Linked DNA regions of Homo sapiens: region 2 is linked to region 1. Evidence: promoter capture Hi-C in 16 types of primary human blood cells and fetal thymus (Javierre and others, 2016). All regions are on one chromosome and are shown on one strand. The core of a region is centred on a gene start or on the middle of the fragment in contact, and the rest is flanking DNA. Distances in the headings are between cores, read along the strand shown. Region 1 holds the start of ALLC (allantoicase). Region 2 overlaps TRAPPC12 (trafficking protein particle complex subunit 12).

Evidence for each region. The method cuts DNA at HindIII sites, captures the fragments that hold promoters and counts their contacts. A CHiCAGO score of 5 or more calls a contact.
Region 2: a contact is called between a fragment that was not itself captured here and the fragment with the promoter of ALLC in region 1, in 3 of 17 cell types (activated CD4 T cells, total CD8 T cells and naive CD8 T cells). The highest score is 7.7, in activated CD4 T cells.

What each region holds. Positions count from the first base shown.
Region 1 is chr2:3,656,462-3,659,649 of GRCh38, forward strand. ALLC (allantoicase) reads left to right here and starts at 1,739. Exons shown (of 12, transcript NM_018436.4): 1 at 1,739-1,833. The HindIII fragment of the contact is 6,896 bases long and covers 1-3,188 here.
Region 2 is chr2:3,440,863-3,444,491 of GRCh38, forward strand. TRAPPC12 (trafficking protein particle complex subunit 12) reads left to right here. Exons shown (of 12, transcript NM_016030.6): 6 at 2,917-3,029. Among named protein-coding and RNA genes, the nearest start is that of TRAPPC12-AS1, 41 kb to the right of the region's middle. The HindIII fragment of the contact is 2,353 bases long and covers 970-3,322 here.

The DNA of each region.
Region 1 (3,188 bases), core at 489-2,988:
GTGGCTGTTGGGCACTAGAAACTTACCTCATAAGACAGAGCATCCAAACTTTTAACTTCACTAAATTAAGTTGATTTTAGCGTTAGAGAAGTATTGAATTTAGCATAGCTAGTGGCTGCCACGTCGGATGGGGCAGCTAGCTGGCAGAGCCCTGTGCTCAACCTCTGGCCATGGCCCAGCAGCCCCAGCATCGCCCTGGAGCTTGGAGAAATCTCAAGCCTCAGGCCGTATCTCAAATCTGCAGCGTCAGAATCTGCACTTTAACCAGCTCGTAGGTGATTTGGAAGCACATTAGATTGTAGGAGCCAGCTCGGTGTGGAGGGCAGAGGTCAGGGTGTGGAGGGCAGGGGTCAGGGTGTGGAGGGCAGAGGTCAGGGTGTGGAGGGCAGGGGTCAGGGTGCCTTCTTCCATGGCTTTATCGGTGCCACAGCCTAGGCTTAGCGAAACCACGAGGATAAAAATAGGCCCTTCTGTTCTCCGCACCGTGAGCTTTGTGACTGATCCGAGGCGGCGAGCGGGGGCACTGCACTGCTGTGGCGGGGAAGTCACGGCTGACAAGAACTGCCAGGGACGAAGCCACGTGCATTAATTCATTAAAATACAGTCAGCTATGGAAGGCAGCATAGGATGTGGTTTCGTTCTTAAAGAATTTCATCTGGATGGGCAGACAGATGTGTAAACATGGACTCAAAGGCCGGGCGAGCTGAGATCAGACAACAGGCGCTGGACGCATCCTAACTACGGCTGGGTGGCGGGGCTGAGAGACGGGCTGGGGTTGGGGGTGGGGTTCTCAGTTGGAGGTGGCCTTGAGCCGGCCTTTCAAATGGCTTTGCTTTCCTCTGGGAAAGCTGGAGTTCAGGAGGAGAAGGCCGGTCAGGCCCTGGGGAAAGAAAACCCAGGAAGGAAAAAGGAGCGTGTGGGTGATGGATCTCCCTGGGACGCAGGTTGTCTTTCTGGAGCCCCAAGGGCCCCTGTGCGCGCCATCTGCTGTGCTGGGTTCTGGTTCCAGCTCAGTCCCTCCCTGCGCAGGTGACCTCGGGTGGCTTTCCTGCCTTCAAGGCCCCAGCTGATTCATCTGCAGAGTGGATAGCTTGCCCCGCAGGGTGGCTGTGGTGAAGCAAGGCAACGTCTGTTACTGCATGTCGAAGCCGGGCTCAGCTGTTTCTTTCTGCATGGAAAGTTCTTCTGCAGACAGTGGGGCCTTTGAAGGCAGGCGGCACGTGTTGTTTTGTATGCCACAGGCCTAGCATCCACTTGGCAAGGTGCCCTTTCTTAAGCATCTGTGGGCTTCTTTAAATTCCATGAAAATTTTGTGTGTATTTACTTTTTCTGGGGCTGAGGGGCTCTAGCCAAACCCTCCCAAGGGCCCCTGTCTTCTCTAGTAGGTCAGGACCCACTGCTGGGTGTGCTCAGTGTTTTCTGAGTTAATGATGATTAGTGAATAGGTGACGTCTAGAGATAAAACTTTAAGTCAGGTTACTGGCCGGACCAGGAAGGTGGGGGTTTCAGGCCCAGGCCAGTGGCCGGAGGCAGCTTTGTTAGGGACAGGGAAGGGCCCTGGGACCAGCAGGGACCATGTCTGGCTTCGGGCCTTGTGCGAGGGTCTTGCAGAGGCCTGCTTGGCTTCTCCGGGGAGGGGCTGCTCCCCCTGTTACTTCCACCTCTCTGCAACCCTTGTGACATCATACAGGCACAGCCAATCTCTGCAAAGTTCTGTCTCTACCTCAGGCCCCTATACATTCTCTCTGAGCTGGCACTCAAGCACCGTGGGACCTTGGCTGGCTTCTGGGGAGCAAGAGATCCATTTATGAATACTTGATTTCTGACTGCTGGGTGAGCTGGAGTGTGGTTTATAAATACCTTGCTATCTTTAAGGTGGGCTTTGCCAAAAGAATAGGGTGACAGAGATGAATTTCAGTCATGCAACGAACCCTCGACACTTGGAAGGTGACAGAGGGTAGATGGTGACAGACACCACTTTGTGCCGTTGAACTGTGTTGGTACCGGGCGTGGCCCAAACACCTGGAGGGGCCCCACAGGTGGGTCAGGCTTCTGGGCTCTGGTCACTGCTCTGTTTGGTTTCAAATCATGTGACTTTGGCCTTCTTAAAAAAAAATCTAAAGAGGCTGGGCATGGTGGCTCATGCCTGTAATCCCTGTACTTTGGGAGGCCGAGGTGGGTGGATTGCTTGAGTTGAGGAGTTTGAGACCAGCCTGAACAACATGGCAAGACCCCATTTCTACCAAAAATCAAAAAAATAGCCAGGCATGGTGGTGCGTGCCTGTGGTCCCAGCTACTTGGGAGGCTGACATGGGAGAATTGCTTGAGCCCGGGATGGGATTGGGGTGGAGGTTGCAATGAGCCAAGATCATGCCACTGTACTCCAGCCTGGATGACAGAGTGAGACCCTGTCTCAAAAAAAAAAAAAAAAAAACCTAAACAACTAAGGCCATGGTGAAGTAAACCTATATTCAAAACAAGAGTCACAAAGTAGAACTAAATGTAAATATATACCAAGAGTTGCCGGTAGTCAGGAGTCTCGTGCAGTTGACCTTGGGCTGCTCAGAGTCCCTGCTCAAGGTCACTCTAATTTTGTCCCAAATTTGAACAAACCACTTTTATTATTTCACCATAAATCTCATACTTTTGGCCAAAGGCTTCTTCGGAACTTATTGACAGCGATGACAAAGCCCCTGAAGGTTTTCTTCTTTACGAGGGAGTAACTCTTCCATCAGCACAGCCTTCCCTGCTTGTCAGAGGGAGGTCTCTCTTTCTTGTGCTTCCTAGACTTGCCTGGTCATGCCTTTTCTTATTTTAAGGCTAATCTCAAAAGAAAAAATAGTGTGAGCACCACTTGACTGCCTGAAATTTCATGACTCTATTTTAGAGAGTCATTGCCTCATCGCCTTGCCGTAACCCATGACAATGCTCCTCATTTGCGGTGATTAAGTTGAAATTTGCAGGTAAAACTTTAGCATGTTCCTCAAACATCAGAGCTGACCCTGGGTCTGGTCTCAGCCACAGCAGAAAATGTATTTAAGAGCTCCCTTGAGCAGGCAGTGGGAGGGGTTGCAGCAATGAGCTTAGAAGCAGCTGCCACAGGCTGTCTGAGCACTGTGAGCTGCTGAGCTGGTGGCCTCAGCCGAGGTCGCGTGGCTCCTTCCTTTCTTGCCTAGACCTTGGCTATT
Region 2 (3,629 bases), core at 896-3,395, 220 kb before region 1:
TCACGAGCTGGTGCTGGATTTTGTTAAATGCTTTTCTACATCTATTGATATGATTTTTGTTCTTTAGCCTGTTTGATGTGGTAGATTATGTTAATTGATTTTGGAATGTTAGATCACCCCTGCATACCTGGAATAAATTCTGTCTGGTCATGGTTCATAATTCTTTTTATACATTGTTGGATTTGGTTGCTAATTTTTTGTTGACTTCAGTTTTCTTAGATTTAGTTTGCTAATTTTGTTGAAGATTTTTGCATTTATGTTCATGAGACATATTGGTCTACAGTTTTTTTTTCTTGTAACGTCTTTGTCTGGTTTTGGTATTAGGGTAATGCCAGACTCATATAAGAAGTTAGAAAGCGTTCCTCTGCTTCTGTTTTCTGAAAGAGATTGTAGAGAACTGGTAGCATTTCTTCCATAAATGTTAGGTGGAATTCACAGTGAGACCATCTGGGTCTGGGGCTTGCTTTTTGGAAAGGTTTTTCTTTTTCTATCCAAGTTACCAAATGTATGGACATAGAGCTGTTCATAATATTCCTTTACTATTCTTTTACTGTTCATAGGATCCATAGTAATAGTCCTTCACTTCTAGTACTAGTTGTTTATGTCTTCTCTGTTTTTTGACTAGCCTGGGGAGAGACTTATTGGTCTTGTCAGAGTTTTATTGGTCTTGTCAAAGAATATGTTTTTGGTTTGGTTGATTTTGTCTATTGATTTCCTGTTTTCAGTTTCACTGATTTCTGCTCTAATTTTTATTATTATATTTTTATTATTTTCTTATTATAATACAATAATATTTTTATTATTTTCTTATAATAAAATATTTTATTTTCTTATAATAAAATAATATTTTTATTATTTTCTTCTCTACTGCTTACTTTAGGCTTATATTGCTCTTTCTTTCCTTCTAGTTTTCAAAGGTGAAGCTGGTTTCAGATCTTTCTTTTCCAATATATGCATTTAATGCTAAAAAGCTTCCTCTCAGCACTGCTTTTGCTGCATCCCACAAATTTTGATAAGTTGTATTTTTATTTTCACTTAGTTCAAAATATTTTCACATGTGCTTTTACATCCAGAAGCACCCCCATGTCCATGGGCAGTTGTCAGGATAAGGGGCAGCTAACTTTCTGCCACCTTCTCAGGTGAAGTGGCAGGAGTCACACAGCCTGTTTTCTCACCATCCACCAAACTGTATTCCAGATCGGAGTATTAACAGCTAGTCTATAAATTGAGATCGGAGTATTAACAGCTAGTCTGTACGTTGAGATCGGAGTATTAACAGCTAGTCTGTACGTTGAGATCGGAGTATTAACAGCTAGTCTGTAAACTGAGATCGGAGTATTAACAGCTAGTCCCAAGTTGGGTTTGAGAACTTCCAGTAGAGGTTTGTTTCTGTGCTTATCTTATAGAGCTTGAAGGGTTCTTGAGATATTCTCTCCCTTGTGGTAAGTGATAAACCACACAGGAGTGATTCTGGCCCCTTCTCTACTTGAGACAGAAGGATGGAAGTGACGTGGCTTACATATAACTTACCATGTTGGGCCGGTTCCACAGTGACATGACTTACATATGACTTAATTGTAGGCCAGTCCCCTGTGTCATTATGCGGATGGTCTAGAAATGTTTATTTCTAGAAAACCGAAGTGACTCAGGCTGTAACTTAAGCTCGGCCAGATATTCTCTTGAGATACAGAAATTATTTAGTGGCATCAAAAAAGAAAGTTTAAACATTTTAAGTTCAATAATTGTTACCTTTCTTTTCTCCAGGCTTATAATCACAATAGAACTGTTTTCCATAGTGTTCCTTAATTTTGACTGTCTTCTTTTTGGACCTTTGTTATTAAAGACCATAAACATAAAGCTCATTTCAGTGTGGTCACGGCCCATTCTCAGTAATGGTTAATGAATAGACAGATGGATGCATTGAGGCACAGATACATTAAGTGGCTTGCAGAAGTCATACGCGTGTTTTCTCACCATCTTTCAGACTATATTCCAGATCCGAATATTCATCGCTTAGGCCTATTTTGAAAAGCACTTTACTGAATCTATGTGATTGCCCTCTGGCATTTCTCTATTCTTTATCTCATTTATAATCAGTGCACGCTATTTGATTTTTTGATGATTGTTATCTACTTAGTATACATACTACAGATCAAATTCCAAATCCTATTAGAAGAGAACACAATATTAACAAAAAGTTGACCTTACCCTGAGAGATGATGCAGCCACAGGTGATACGATATAAAGGGGGTTTCTCCTGAGCTTCTTCCTCTTCTTAGCGCACGCAAAGCCAGGCAGCTCTGGGTGATGGATTTTTCAAGTCCAGCTCCCTTGCCTCCTGTCAGAGGTGGAACGCAGGCTCCAGGGCCACATGGAATCCAGTGGGAGGCCCATCCCCAGGGCCGAGGCCTGAGACGCACCTGTGCTCAGTTTCGCCTCCTCCCCACTGGTTTTCCCGGGAGCACTTCCGGAACCACTGGCTGGCTTACGGCTTCTCCCTTCAGGGTCTCCTTCTGGGGAACCCAAGCTAAGCAACCTACCATTCGAGCTTGCTAAACTAAAGAAATATTAAAGAATATCTGAGCATTCTGGTTTTTCTTTTATTGGAGGAGGGGTTGGCGGTCTCTACTGTTTCATTCATTTTGGGATCATTTCTAAATGATTGCAGTGTAGCTTTGGAAATTGTGGTGTCATCCACCTGTCTCCTCTGATAATTGTCGAGACATACATACATAGAGCTCCATAGAGAAAACCAGCATGTATTTTATAGTTGACACCGTTAAATACTTCACAAGAAATAAAGGGATCTGTCATCACTTCTGCTGGGACATCTGCGACGCCTCCTTCAAGTGTGCCAAGTATGAATGCGTGCTCAGTTATGGCAAACAAACTCACTCAGCACTGATTGGATTCCAGGCTCCATGGTCCCCTTCTCGATGCGCATCTTGCACGCGGAGCTTCAGCAGTACCTGGGGAACCCACAGGAGTCGCTGGATAGACTGCACAAGGTGAAGACTGTCTGCAGCAAGGTAGGTGGCGCTGTCATTCTTCCCTGCCACGGGGAGAACATGCCCTCCACGCCCTCCCCACAGGACATGCCCGTGCTGTTCCCTGCCCGTCCTGCCCCATGCACCATCGCTGCTTCTGCCTTCAGAAGGCTAGGTGACCCGGTTTGTGTGGCCTGGTAGTCGTGTCTCTTGCTGAAATCTTTTTTAGGGATGGTAAGAGTTTCTAGCAGAGCTTGAGTCCTGTAATTCTTACTGCCTGGTACTATGGGAAGCTGAAAGGCAGAGACATCTTTCTTGCCAAGGCTGCCAGCTGAAGCTTCAAGGTCAGTGTGCCAGACCACCCCTGTGTCCCACAAGTGCCCACACGCACCTGCCACGTGCAGACAGAGGTACCGGAGCAGTACTGAAAGCAATCATGGTTTAAGCTTTCAAATCCAAGTAAGTGCTTCTGCATTATGGCAACTGTCACTCATGATCCTGACTGCAAAGGCAGAGTCGGAGTGTTTTCGGACTCATTCTTGGTTGTGAAGTCACAGTTAATGTGGGAGCCACCAAAGTGGCACGTTATTACACTAACTGACATTGGGAAGAAATGTGGGACTCAGAGACTTTGCTGTCTAC